2 separate regions of the Homo sapiens genome follow, and region 1 is linked to region 2. The links are contacts of gene promoters, found by promoter capture Hi-C in human tissues and cell types (Jung and others, 2019). All regions are on one chromosome and are shown on one strand. The core of a region is centred on a gene start or on the middle of the fragment in contact, and the rest is flanking DNA. Distances in the headings are between cores, read along the strand shown. Region 1 holds the start of SCG5 (secretogranin V). Region 2 holds the start of KLF13 (KLF transcription factor 13).

Region 1 (6,888 bases), core at 4,202-6,701, 1.3 Mb after region 2:
TCAGAAAAGATCAGTAAGTCTGAGGAAACCTTACTAACTCCAGAGCGACTAGTTGGAACAAATTACCGGATGTCTTGGACAGGACCTAATAATTCAAGTTTTCAAGAAGTAGATGCAAATGAAGCTTCTTCAATGGTGGAAAATCTTGAGGTAGAAAACTCTTTGGAGCCTGATATTATGGTAGAAAAGTCACCTGCTACTTCATGTGAACTCACCCCTTCCAATTTAAACAATAAGCATAATAGCAACATAACAAGTAGCCCTCTTAGCGGGGATGAAAATAACATGACCAAAGAGACTTTGGTGAAAGTTCAAAAAGCGTTTTCTGAATCTGGAAGTAATCTTCACGCATTGATGAATCAGAGGCAGTCATCAGTAACTAATGTGGGGAAAGTAAAATTAACTGAACCATCTTATTTAGAAGATAGCCCAGAGGAAAATCTATTTGAAACTAATGATTTGACTATAGTAGAATCAAAGGAGAAATATGAACACCACACTGGTAAAGGTGAAAAATGTTTTTCAGAGAGGGACTTTTCACCCCTTCAAACTCAAACATTTAATAGAGAAACAACTATAAAATGTTATTCAACTCAGATGAAGATGGAACATGAAAAAGACATTCATTCAAATATGCCAAAAGATTATTTAAGCAAGCAAGAATTCTCCAGTGATGAAGAAATAAAGAAACAGCAGTCCCCAAAGGATAAACTAAATAATAAATTAAAAGAGAATGAGAATATGATGGAAGGTAACTTACCGAAGTGTGCAGCACATAGCAAGGACGAGGCTAGATCCTCTTTCTCACAGCAGAGTACATGTGTTGTAACAAACTTGTCAAAACCTAGGCCTATGAGAATTGCTAAACAGCAGTCATTGGAAACATGTGAGAAAACAGTTTCTGAAAGTTCACAAATGACAGAACATAGAAAGGTTTCTGATCACATACAGTGGTTTAACAAGCTTTCTTTAAATGAACCAAATAGAATAAAAGTCAAGTCACCTCTTAAGTTTCAGCGTACTCCTGTTCGTCAGTCCGTCAGAAGAATTAATTCTTTGTTGGAGTATAGCAGACAACCTACAGGGCATAAGTTGGCGAGTCTTGGTGATACAGCTTCTCCTTTGGTCAAATCAGTGAGCTGTGACGGTGCTCTTTCCTCTTGTATAGAAAGTGCATCAAAAGATTCCTCTGTTTCATGTATCAAATCAGGTCCTAAAGAACAGAAGTCCATGTCATGTGAAGAGTCAAATATTGGTGCAATTTCAAAGTCAAGCATGGAGTTACCCTCGAAATCTTTCTTAAAGATGAGGAAGCACCCAGATTCAGTGAATGCTTCTCTTAGGTCTACTACAGTTTATAAACAGAAGATCTTATCTGATGGCCAAGTTAAGGTTCCCTTGGATGATCTGACTAATCATGATATAGTAAAACCAGTTGTAAATAACAACATGGGCATTTCTTCTGGGATAAATAACAGGGTCCTTAGGAGACCATCAGAAAGAGGAAGGGCCTGGTACAAAGGTTCTCCAAAACATCCTATCGGAAAAACTCAATTACTACCAACAAGTAAACCTGTAGATTTGTAATTGGTAAATGTTATACTTGTCATTAATGTAAATAAAGTGAGTAATTGGTATGACTTGCAGGATGATGTACATGTTAGTTTGTAGCTCAGGATGATTGTTAAGCAATAGATTTGCTCTATTGAAAATGTTTCATTTTTTTCACTGTACAAGCAACTTAGATTTTTATTTGTACAAATTACTTCTTTGTTTTTCTTAATGATGGCAATTTTTAAACTTTAATTTTATTGTGATCTCTTAAAGCAGAGGTTAGACTTTACCTTTCTGACTCTGTCGTCCAGGCTGGAGTGCAGTGGCGCAATCTCACTGCAAGCTCCACTTCCTGGGTTCATGCCATTTTCCTGCCTCAGCCTCCCGAGTAGCTGGGACTACAGGTGCCCGCCACCACGCCCAGCTAATTTTTTGTATTTTTAGTAGAGACGGTTTCACCGTGTTAGCCAGGATGGTCTCGATCTCCTGACGTTGTGATCCGCCCGCCTCAGCCTCCCAAAGTGCTGGGATTACAGGCATGAGCCACCACGCCCGGCTAGACTTTACCTTTCTAAAGAAATTGTTTACTGGATTTATAAGAAGTTAATTTTTGAAAATGACATATTTTTGTGTGATAGAAAGAATGGAGCAAGTTGTGCCTATTTCCTCCAAGTCAGATAAGGTTTCTAAAATAAATAAATTTCTAGCATATAAAGGGTAGAGATAAACTCTGCAAATCTTATGTCTGGAATTATATTAATGTTTATTGTCCTTGCCAAAATTCCTAGAAATTAATTTCCTTCAATAGCATCCTAAAACTCTATTTTTATTTGGGGCAGAGTAATTTCATTTATAGTGCCAGTAGGTGTACCTTGTGTTCACTCGAACTAAGAACAATGGTTAAGGCAGAATAATGACTAAAATATGTTCATATATTATGATGTGGAAATAATTGATAACTTTTAAGCCATACTATGTTTTTAAAGATAATTTGCACAAACACGTTTGTGTCTGTTCTGTCCAATATAGATTTGGCAATTATTTAAAGAGGGATAATCTTGAAAAAAATTAACCAAGGTGATTTCTTATATGTAGATGCTCGATTTTGGAATTTGAAATAGTAGATGCACCTCTTTACCTTTTTTACTTGGATAAAAACCTATGATGATTTTGTCCTGTGTGTAAATGTTATTTATTTAGCATAGACATTAAAGATAACTCTCTGGAAAATGACTTGACTAAGGCTCTCATGAAATTCAAAGTGCCATTTAGAACATGCACCAAATTGTCAAGTAAATCTGTCTAAATTTATATTTTAAATTATTACAAATTACACATCTTTGAGGAAAGAGTATTATGAACAATAGAACATATTCTCTAGGTTGTAGAGGAAGGAATAAGCAGACAGAATCAACCACTAAAGGTAGTTTTTCAGATTGGTTGTTAGAATGTCATGTTTAGATGTTGGAGCAGATTAGAGCAGCATTCATGCCACTCGGAGCAACCAGACTTACAGCATAAGTATGTACGAGGAATTTCAAATCATCAGATGTTTGCTTGGCTAGGTTCTACTTTGTTTATTTGATATCAAATAGGTTTGTAGATGTTTATGGCATTTCTAATTGTAAGTAGAGACAAAATATTCATATAGTCAGATATATGTTGTCTGCTTTAAACAATTTTTAAATTTTAAAAATGCATTAACGTCTTTTTATATCCATCAAGGGAAGGATGAAATGTTGAATTTGAAGACTAATTCAGTAAGAAGTCCTAGGGGTTTAACTGTACATACTACCTGAACTGGCTTTTCTGAGAGATGAATCAATAATGAAACATGTCTGTTTTAAAAACTACCACATGTGACTCCTATTTTTGTTAGCTGAAAGCTGCTATACGGAGTATTACAGGAATGTGAAGGTGACTAGCTTGAAGGTAGGGTAACTAGAGAGCCAGAAAAGTTTTGTTTTAAACTTGATTTAATGCGTTTTTATTTTTTCTTATACAAAATAGAGATAATGTTGCTAACTTCATGGAATATTTGAGGAAATGATATGAAAGTGTCTGGACGTGCAGTAACCTCATGGGTTCTTCTCACTGTCTTATAAATGTAAATAAAGATCTAATATTAATTTGGTTATCTAATAACAACTTAATACATAGAACTTAGTAGACTGCATGGCCACATTCTATAATATGATCACTAAGAACTTAATGTAGGATTTTAATAGTCATGTTTTTCTTAATTGTGGCAGAATTTAAACCTTAATTTTGTGATCTTTTTTAGTTAGTTTGTTTTTTGTTTTCTTTTCTTTTTTTTTTTTTTTTTTTTTTGAGGCGGAGTCTCACTCTGTCGTCCAGGCTGGAGTGCAGTGGCACAATCTCAGCTCACCGCAACCTCCATCTCCCGAGTTCAAGCGATTCTTCTGCCTCAGCCTCCCAAGTAGTTGGGACTACAGGCATGCACCACCACGCCCAGCTAATTTTTGTAGTTTTAGTAGATACGGGATTTCACCATATTGGCCAGGCTGATCTCGAACTCCTGACCTTGTGATCCTCCCACCTTGGCCTCCCAAAGTGTTGGGATTATGGGCGTGAGCCACTGCACCTAACCTCTGTGATCTCTTAAATATATATGAAGTTTTATTTTTGAAACACCAAATTTCAAATGAAGCATAGGCATTTTGATCTATTTCAGTTAAATTTAACACAAAAGCAGTAAATTGTAGTGACTTCATTTTTTTCAACCACAAAATGAAGATAACAATGAACAAAGCTAAAGTAAAACTCAGAATTGAAAAAAGTCTCTGTGCATCAATAATAAATACTAACTCCAGCATGGCCAGTGAGCCTAGAGCCATTTAATGGATAGTGTTTGTCCTGTTGATTTAGCATGCATTGAAACAAGAAGCAAGAAGCAGATGAGCATCCGTGAAAGAAAAAGTACTGGGAAAGAGGCTTGGCTTCAAAATGAAAGGCCATGTGTCTCATAAATGAATTTTGCCAGCCTCTATTTATTGCATAAAAATTGCTGTAGATGATAATGGATTTGCTCTCTAGAGCTAAGATAAATAGATCTGGATTCTAACCTCATCAGGTTACTTGTTTTGAGACCCCCAGGTTCTTTACTCATCCTCCATCTTGATCAAATTTGTAGTGCCATATTTATTGTATGGCTTTACATTTTGATTTTAGTATTTGAACAAATTTCAGTGTTCAAGATTGCACATAGTAGGTGCTCCATAAACCCTTATTTAAGAATCTGGGACTACCTGGACATACTTCTACAGTATGCTGGGAGTATGGTTTCTCTTCAGGCCAAAGTGGAATTTTACTTGATGGTTTGTGTGGACGTTTAGAAATAACACTCAGAGCTGATATTTCTACAGATTTTCAAGTTTATCACTTTAATGGAAGTTTCTGGCTTCTTGTATTAAATATCCCCATAGTTTTCCTGATTAGTAAGAGGCCCCTCAGAGCAGGGTATACCTTATCATAGCCACCATTAAAAGTTCTTAGGACTTCATCTTTTGTCTCTCTACCATTCATTGCCTCTTCCCTCTTGAAGCTGAAAGGCTTTAGACACAAAAACAAAAAACATATTCTAGAAGTTGACAAAATTAAAGGTGTGCTGTAGTGGTGATCTGGCACGTTGTAATTGAGACTGAGGAGGTGAATGACTTACATGGAGGTCGATGGAGCTGAAGAGGGTCTCTAGGAAATGTCATAGTCAAGAGGTTTGTATGCAGAATGTGGGGGTTGAAGAGCTGTGCGGCTCCTGGTGAGAGGCACACTTATCTGGGATGCAGTCTGGGGAGTCCTGGCGAGGCAGCTTCCACCTGCTGGAGGAGGGGCCGGGGCGGAGCTAAGATGCGGAGGAGGGTGACGCACTAGCTCTCCAGTTCGCCCGTTCCTGGCCTGACCCCCACCAAGGCCCATACCGCAGTAGGCTCCTCGGGCTGCCCCTCGGTGAGTACAGTTTTGATGTCGGCTCGGCCGCCTGCCGCCAACCCGAGATTTGGTATTGCCAGTTGTGGGAGGGCGTCCTGCTAAAATCCTTGAGGTGGAGGCTGGGGTCAGACGAAGGATGCGTAGGGGATTAGAATGTTTGGCTATCAGTAAGGGGAAGGGAGTACTGAGGGAGGAGATTGTGTAGTTCATCAAATCAGAGCGGCGTTTGCTGGGATGACATCCTGCATTCAGAGTGGACAAGGGAAAGATGGAGATGGAGAGCCTCGTGTCTGCCTCCAGCCTTTTCCATCAGAATTGCAGATTTTGCTGTTAAACAGCTACTCTCAGCTCTTTGGAGAGCAAGGTTTTATATCTAGTGGCTAGAAAAGGCCTTTTCTTTGCAGAAAAAGAAATTGGAGGGTATAAAAATTTTTGTTTCAGTAAAGGAAATGCACGATTTTGCCTCCTCCCACCTCTCCATCCCCCATCCTCAGTAGAAGAATGATTAGAAGGAGGGTTTGCGCCGGTCCTGGTGGCTCACGCCTGTAATCCTAGCGCTTTGGGAGGCTGAGGGGAGGGGGTGGATCACCTGAGGTCAGGAGTTCGAGACCAGCCTGACCAATATGGTGAAACCCTGCCTCTATTAAAAATACAAAAATTAGCCGGGTTTGGTTGTGGGCGCCTGTAATTCCAGCTACTCGGGAGGCTGAGGCAGGAGAATCACTTGAACCTGGGAGGTGGAGGTTGCAGTGAGTCGAGATGGCGCCACTGCACTCCAGCCTGGGCAACAAGAGTGAAACTCCGTCTCAAAAAAAAAAAAAAAAAAAAAAAAAAAGGGTTTGCAAGGCCGCTGCCTGAAGCATGCATCCAAACACGTTAAGCAGCTGTGGGGTAAGCTGCAAGGATAATGTTCACTTGTTTTGCAGACATACCCATAGAAACCAACATTTTGGACAGGTTGACCCTCCCACCCCCAGGCTAGTTAACTCCCTCTCACCACCACTGCCTCCCCATATTCTAACCTCCAGAACTGTTAAGGCAATGTTAGCAACATAATAATAGCAATATAGGGGCTCATTCTGTGCCTGGCATTGTCCTAAACACTCTTAACATGTATTTGCACACACCCTCACAACAACCCTAAAAGGTAAATGCTTTAATTATCTCCGTTTTGCAGAGGAGGAAACTGAGGGACTTGCCTACGATCACTCAGCATGTGGCTGAGCAAACAAACCTCAAACTACCCCAGCAGATTGCAGGGCTGGATCTAAGGAACATTTTCCTTCCTTTCAGGATCGCAAACGTATTGGATGTTTGCTAAACTGAAATGTTTCCCTGCCACCACTCCCAACCTTCCTGAGCTTCTTGATTTGTGTCTTCCTGACT
Region 2 (6,518 bases), core at 201-2,700:
CTTACTGAGCTCCAACCCCAAATTAATTTGGTGAGAACTCGAACTCGGCTATTAACCTTAATTCTGAGAGAAGAATGACACCCCCCTCCCACTGCGAGGGTCCACTGAGGGTGAGTGCCCGGGCTCCTTCATTCTCCAGGCTCCTCTCAGAACACAGCAAGGGTGGCTGACTCCTTCGAACGTCCATTAAGCACAATGCAACGGGGCGAGGCAGTAGGGGGTTTGCTGAGCCCGGTTCCGCGGCGGTGGGAAGTTATTCACCGGCGTCTCCGAGGACGGCCCAGGCCTGGAGAATGGCTGGGGCCGCGGGCTGGGGTAGGGGTTACCGTGAGAGTCAAGGGCAAGGTGGCCCAGCCCGGGCTGGGAGGCGCGGGCTGGGCGCAGCCGAGCATTTCCTCCGGGAGGCCCAGACAGCGGGCGGGTGGGGCGCGGTGGGCGGGGTCCTCGCAGCTGGTGGCGTTTGAAGCCCCCCCGACCGCGGTGGGAGAGGGGCAGCCTAGAAGAGTTGGCAGCGGGCCTGCGGCGGGATGGGGAGGAAGGGGCCCCGCGTTCCCTCAGCAGCGGCGCCGGCCGCCCTGGCACGTAGTTCGCTTCTGGAGGCACAGGCCGCGGTGGGCGCGCCACCCGGGCTGCCAGGCTCACCGCCAGCCGAGGCCAGTCCTGCTCGGGCTGACCCGAGCTGAAGGGCAGCGCGGCCGCACCCCGGACCCCAGGAACGAGCCCGAGTCTGTCCCTCCCGCGGGAGCTGCCCCGCCCGGACTCCCGGAGCTCTGCAAGGCAGGGGCGTGGGGAGGGCGAGCGGCCTGAGGCTCTAGGCGCGGCCACCCGGCAAGCCGGCGGCGGAGGGCGCGGCGCGAGTGCGTTCCGCCCCTAGGCAGCCCCGCGCCCGGCCGGGCAGACACGCCTCCCCGCCGGCGCCCATCGCGGGAGGAACAAATGGCGCCCTCCAGAAACCGCTCCCCTCCATGCCGGGGGCCAAGGCTGTCACCACATAAAAGCTCCGGCAGAGAAGTGCTCGCTGTGTCCCCGCCGCGGGGGGTACAAGCAGCCGCTCCGCGCCGCGACTACCCGGCCCGCCGCCCCCGGACGTCATGCGTCAGCGCGCCCCGCTCCAGTTTCCGCCCCTCCTCCCACCGGCCCAGGGGACACGCCCACTGGCGCGCGCAGGGCCCGGGACCGGGCACGCCCCTCTAACGGCTCGGATTGGCCTGGCCGTGCACTCACGGACCAATGGCGTCTGTCCCGGCCCTCGGTCACGCCCCCTTGCCCAGGCGCGGGCACGCGACCGCTCCGTTCCGCCGGTGCGCGCTCTGGGGTCCCCGCCCCCTCCGCGCGCGCAGCTCCCCGCAGCCGCCGCCGCCTGTAACCTGCGCCGCCAGGATGTGGCTGGGGGCTGACGTCGGGTCCAGATGTGGCCCCGGCCCCGCCCACCCCCGGGGCCGGGCCGCCCACACGGAGCCGCGGCGCGCACGGCAGCTGTCCCGCCTGCCACAATGCGCGGCGAAGCTGCGGCCGCGACTTGGCGAGGTGGTCCCTAACGTTGCCGCTCGGCATCCTTAGAACCGGCCGCCCCTGACGCCGCGCGGGGACCCCAGTCGCCCGCGCGCCCCATGCGCTCACTCTTCGGTGCCCGGCCGGGCCGGCGCCTCGCAGACGCGGAGCCGCGCGGGTGACGGCACAGGCGGCTGCGCGCCCAGCCCAGCCCAGCCCAGCCCGAGGAGAGGGCGCGCCGCGCCCCCGCCCCCCGCCCGCTCTCCCGAGGCCGTGGGTGCGGATGCGCGGCTGACGACTCGCAGCAAGAGCACCGCCGCCGGCCCCAGCCCGCAGCATGGCAGCCGCCGCCTATGTGGACCACTTCGCCGCCGAGTGCCTCGTGTCCATGTCGAGCCGCGCGGTCGTGCACGGGCCGCGGGAGGGGCCGGAGTCCCGGCCCGAGGGCGCGGCCGTGGCCGCCACCCCCACGCTGCCCCGCGTCGAGGAGCGCCGCGACGGTAAGGACAGCGCCTCGCTCTTCGTGGTGGCGCGGATCCTAGCGGACCTCAACCAGCAAGCGCCGGCGCCCGCCCCGGCGGAGCGCAGGGAGGGCGCCGCGGCCCGGAAGGCGAGGACCCCCTGCCGCCTGCCGCCGCCCGCCCCCGAGCCCACCTCCCCCGGCGCCGAAGGCGCGGCGGCCGCGCCCCCCAGCCCGGCGTGGAGCGAGCCGGAGCCCGAGGCGGGGCTGGAGCCCGAGCGGGAGCCGGGGCCCGCGGGGAGCGGCGAGCCCGGCCTCAGACAAAGGGTCCGGCGGGGCCGAAGTCGCGCCGACCTCGAGTCCCCGCAGAGGAAGCACAAGTGCCACTACGCGGGCTGCGAGAAAGTTTACGGGAAATCTTCGCACCTCAAGGCGCACCTGAGAACTCACACAGGTCAGTGGGGCGGCGCGGGCGCCCGGATCGCGCGGACGGGGTCGGCGCGAGCTGCCCGACCACGCCCCCGGAGTCCCCGATGGGGCGCGAGGTGGGGGCCGGGCGGGCCGGAACGCCCGGGGCCTCGCCCCTTCCCCTGCCGCTCCGACCCGCGGCTGGCCCCGCGCGTCGCGCGAGGCGGGTCTTGGCTCTCGGAGCCGGCGCCCGCCAGGCGACCGCGCCCCCGCCGGGCACGCCCCCTCCCCGGGCGCGCTCGGGTGGGGCCGCGGGGGCGGATATAGTCATCTGGGCTGGGGGCGGGGACCCCTCCCGGCCGGGAGGCGGCGCGGGCAGGTGCGGGCGGCCTGGGTGTGGACCGCAGGCGGCACTCGTGACGGTGGGGCGCCCGGAGCGGGGGCAGGGGACGCTCTCCGGGGTCCCTCCTCGTTTCCTCCCCCGCTGCCCGGGCGCGCGCTCAGGAGGGGAGGGGCCGGCCCCGGCGCGCGGCGGGCGAAGTTCACGCAGGGACAAGGTTTCCTTCGCCACTCGGCACATTCTTCGCTCTCTTCTTCCTGTAATTTTTCCAGCGCTCTAAGGTTTAATTTGTCGTAACCAAAGTCAGCGGCGGCGCTTGGCGATGCGGGGGGCGGTCCCGGGTCCCGCTCCCCGCCTGCGGCTCTTTGTGGGAGCCCCCGCCCATCCGGCCCGGCGGGGGCGCGCCCGGCCCTAGGCTCCTCGGCCTCGAGGCTCTCTCCGGAAAGGAATGCCCTGGCCGCTGCCCATCCTCCGTGCTGCCCTCTCGCCTGCCCACCTCTCACCTGCCCTGGGCCGGTGCGGGGCGGGCGGCACCTGCACCAGGGCGGGCGCTGAGCCTCCAGCCTGGGGATCACCGCCCGCCCCCGCCAGCCCAGCGGCAACAGTTCCCACGCGCGGCCCGATACTTTGTAGTTGATTCATCTGTGGCGGTTCCCTCCCCCCTTTTTGTTTCGTTTTTAACATAAAGATGAAAATATTTTAATGGACGGCAATCCTTCCCCATTTTGGTGTAAAGAATTGTATGCTTCCTCTGAGCTCACGTGAGTTCTTCTGTGACACTCACCTCTTCTACCTTGGGGGCAGGCTCAAAACCCGTCTACTGAATACTGTTGTCTTGTGACCAAGGGTGGTGGTCTCTCATTTGTAAAATAGTTCACATAGTGATTAAAAGGCATAAAAAGAAGCTGCAGCCTTGGATACCCTAGAGCTGAAGGCCCCTTTTTTTTACCATTTGGAACTGAAAGGGCCCAAGGTCTGCAGGTGAGGCTTTCAGATCTCGGACTAACTTTCCCCAGGGAGGCTTTTGTGGCCGCTCCAAACCACGTGGCAGGTGATGGGGTAGAGGGTGAGAGCGGGGCCATTTCTAGGCATTCGGGGTCAGTTAAGGGTGTGGGGGCTCAGGTTGGGGGTGGGAGTCAGTGTGGGCTCAGAGTTCAGCTCGGGACGCGGCTGCAGGGTGGGTGTGGCCCTGGGGGAGGGGCCAGGCTAGGCTCAGCTCGGCTCCAGGTGGATCCTGAGTATCGGGTGGGGGCAGCGATTGGGGCGTGGCTGGGGTTGAGATCCGCTTTGGGGGATGATGCCCGTGCTGGGCAGGATACTTAATGTTTGGGAAATTTTTCTACGGCCTCTGTCAGGGTGGCCTGCCACTCGGCAGCACCGGTAGCGGGGAATTGAGGAGGGGGGTGGCCGAGGGGAGGGGCTCGCCGTCGTGGGCGGGGCCGGCTTGTCAGGGCCTCAGCCTTGGGATGTCTTCCTGGTGGGTTCATCTCCCGCTTCAGGCTCTGGCCCCGCGCGAGCCTCTTGACTAGAATATTGGCGCAGGGGCTCTGGAGACCCGGGCCTCCCGCTGTAGGTGGGGCCAGTTTCCTCGGAGCGCCTGGAAACCGAAGGCAGGCAAAAGAGCACGGGACCAACCCTTTGAGTGTCTGCAGTGTGCTACAGTGCTCGTTCTTGAAGCAGAGAAACTATTCCACCCTTCAGGTGTGCAGACATCAGAAGTCCTACCTCCAGGGTGGAAGCCGGCCTCCAAGTTGGAAGTGCACAGGGCTCCGGCAGCGGGGTGGCGGGGAGTTGGGAAGAATGCAGATTTCCGGGCCCCTGATGCCGACCTAGTACACACAGTTCCAGCGTGCAGTTGGGAGTGCATGTTACCGGTACCCCAGGTGACCCATTATGAGAGTTGAACTGCCCAGAAACCTGCCTCTGGAGGGAGTCTGGTTCAGCATCTGGTGGAGGGCACCCCTGGGAAGCCCATTTCCAGCCCCTTCCCAGGTGTGCAGAGCATAAGTAACTGGTGTTCCTCAAGGGAGAAGAGGAGCTTGCTGTTGGGGGAGAAAAGAGCATCTTGCAGAAGGGAGAAACCCAGGCAGGCCTCAGGGATGACTGAGAAGGCAGGGCACAAGGTGATGGCTTTGCTGCAGCCGTGGGCTCTGAGGTGTCCGTGGTTTGTGGGCCTCTAGCAGCATTGTGGGGTCTCTGCAGTCAGTGACTGAGGTCATGCCGGGCCCCGTACTCCATTAGGCTCGGGAAGGTGCCCCCGCCCCACTTCCCGCATTTCCAGGATCCACAGTAATTTCATGGCAGAGGGTGAATATCACAACCAGGAAGGTGGCCAGCTGCTCTGTGCTGTTCCTCTATGTGACCAGGGACCGGTTCCCAGATCTCCCTGCAACTTGGTGATGTCTGCCCTGACCACCTGCAAAGTCTTCAGGGACATGAGGTCAAGTATGTGAAGACCCTTTGAGAAGTGCAAGGGTCAGCCTTGACTCTGGAGGCACTTGTGGTCCCTTGGCCGTGGCTCTGCTCTGATTTTCCACCCCCACTCTCTGAACAGCTGCATGCTAAGAGCTTTCTGTCCTGGTTAGCTGTGTAGCAGTGTGGTTTCCCACTCCCACTCTTCCAGGAGTTATCCTGTGGACACATTGGTCTCTGTCACATTTAGGTAATTGTTGATATTATAACAATGCGTAATAACACAAAACCAAGAAAAACATCTTTGCAGCTCGTGCTACTTTATTATTTGGCCAATTAGAACTTCCGAGTCCAGACCTGGAAAGTTTGCTAAGAGGGGCTTAGGGGAGCAGCAAGACCAGGAGCAGATTTTCTTGGAACCTGAGGTGCTTTGATGCAGGAATTCAAGGACTCACCTTCGATAGGTCAGGCTGGGGCCCTCTTGAGGGCAGACTGGTTGCCCAGATCCTGCCTCTGGAGAGTCCTGCGTGTTGTCCTGAATGGGGAGACTTGGCAGGCCCCCAGCAGAATGGCCACTTGGTCTTTCTTGGCAGAGAGACCCTGAATACATTTCTACCTATTTGTTCCCACAGAGAATTGTTTTCAAAACTGCTCTGTGCCCTGTTTTCCCTCCAGCGCTGGAGTCAAAACATCTCTCTGCATGCTGGGCCCTTTCTGGGTTCTGGGGGTCCCATGGAAAGGTGGGCACAGTGGCGTGCCCAGCCTTCCCTCCTGCAGAACCCGAGGCATGTTTGTGGTCACCTGGCCCTGTTTGGGGTGGAGGAGGGAAGTAGAGTAAGATCACATTCTGTCAGCCATTTCCTGTGATAATTTGGGTGGGGTTCACCTGAAATTTATCTTTACCCACTGAAGCAAGGATTTGATCCTGACAGATTATTGCGACCCCTCCCCCAGGGCACACTCTGGCTTTAGAGACTTGTTTCCAAGCACACCGCCCCTTGGGCTCCCTGCAGGTCCTCCCTGATGCTGCTGCCTGGGAAAGCAGAGCAGAGGGCATCTGGCAGAGCAGAGGGCATCTGGGTGGGATCTCCTTTACCCAGGGCAAAGCCAGGCTTGTTGGTGGCCTGTGCTTTGTTCAGAGACACACACAGGCCAGTGGCTCAGCACGCCCACCCCTCCCTCTCGTACCCTCGCTGTCCCAGGCTGCCAGTGGCCCTAGTTGTGAAACTCCTCAAACAATGCAGAAATGTATGCAGCATGGGAGGTGCCAGCCTGCACCACCACCAAACCACTGTTACCCCGCGTTGGTGTTTTTCTTTACAGACCTTCTAGATGGATTTGCACATATGCATATGTGTGTGTCCACGTAGACATTTTGAAACATACTTAAATAGGATCCTAGCAAGT

The links. The method cuts DNA at HindIII sites, captures the fragments that hold promoters and counts their contacts. A contact is called where the count stands out against the background at its distance.
Region 1: the fragment with the promoter of SCG5 here is called in contact with the fragment with the promoter of KLF13 in region 2 in 1 of the 25 tissues and cell types used here (mesenchymal stem cells).

Annotation. Positions count from the first base shown.
Region 1 is chr15:32,636,259-32,643,146 of GRCh38, forward strand. It overlaps SCG5 (secretogranin V), which reads left to right and starts at 5,452. Exons shown (of 6, transcript NM_001144757.3): 1 at 5,452-5,520. The region is part of intron 9 of ARHGAP11A-SCG5 (ARHGAP11A-SCG5 readthrough); the gene reads left to right. It overlaps ARHGAP11A (Rho GTPase activating protein 11A), which reads left to right. Exons shown (of 12, transcript NM_014783.6): 12 at 1-3,683. The coding sequence ends at 1,587. RefSeq lists enhancers at 4,945-5,585, 5,586-6,224. The HindIII fragment of the contact is 11,081 bases long and covers 544-6,888 here.
Region 2 is chr15:31,325,385-31,331,902 of GRCh38, forward strand. KLF13 (KLF transcription factor 13) reads left to right here and starts at 1,451. Exons shown (of 2, transcript NM_015995.4): 1 at 1,451-2,405. The coding sequence starts at 1,829. RefSeq lists a promoter at 576-1,632 and enhancers at 660-1,173, 4,283-4,847. The HindIII fragment of the contact is 14,180 bases long and covers 1-6,518 here.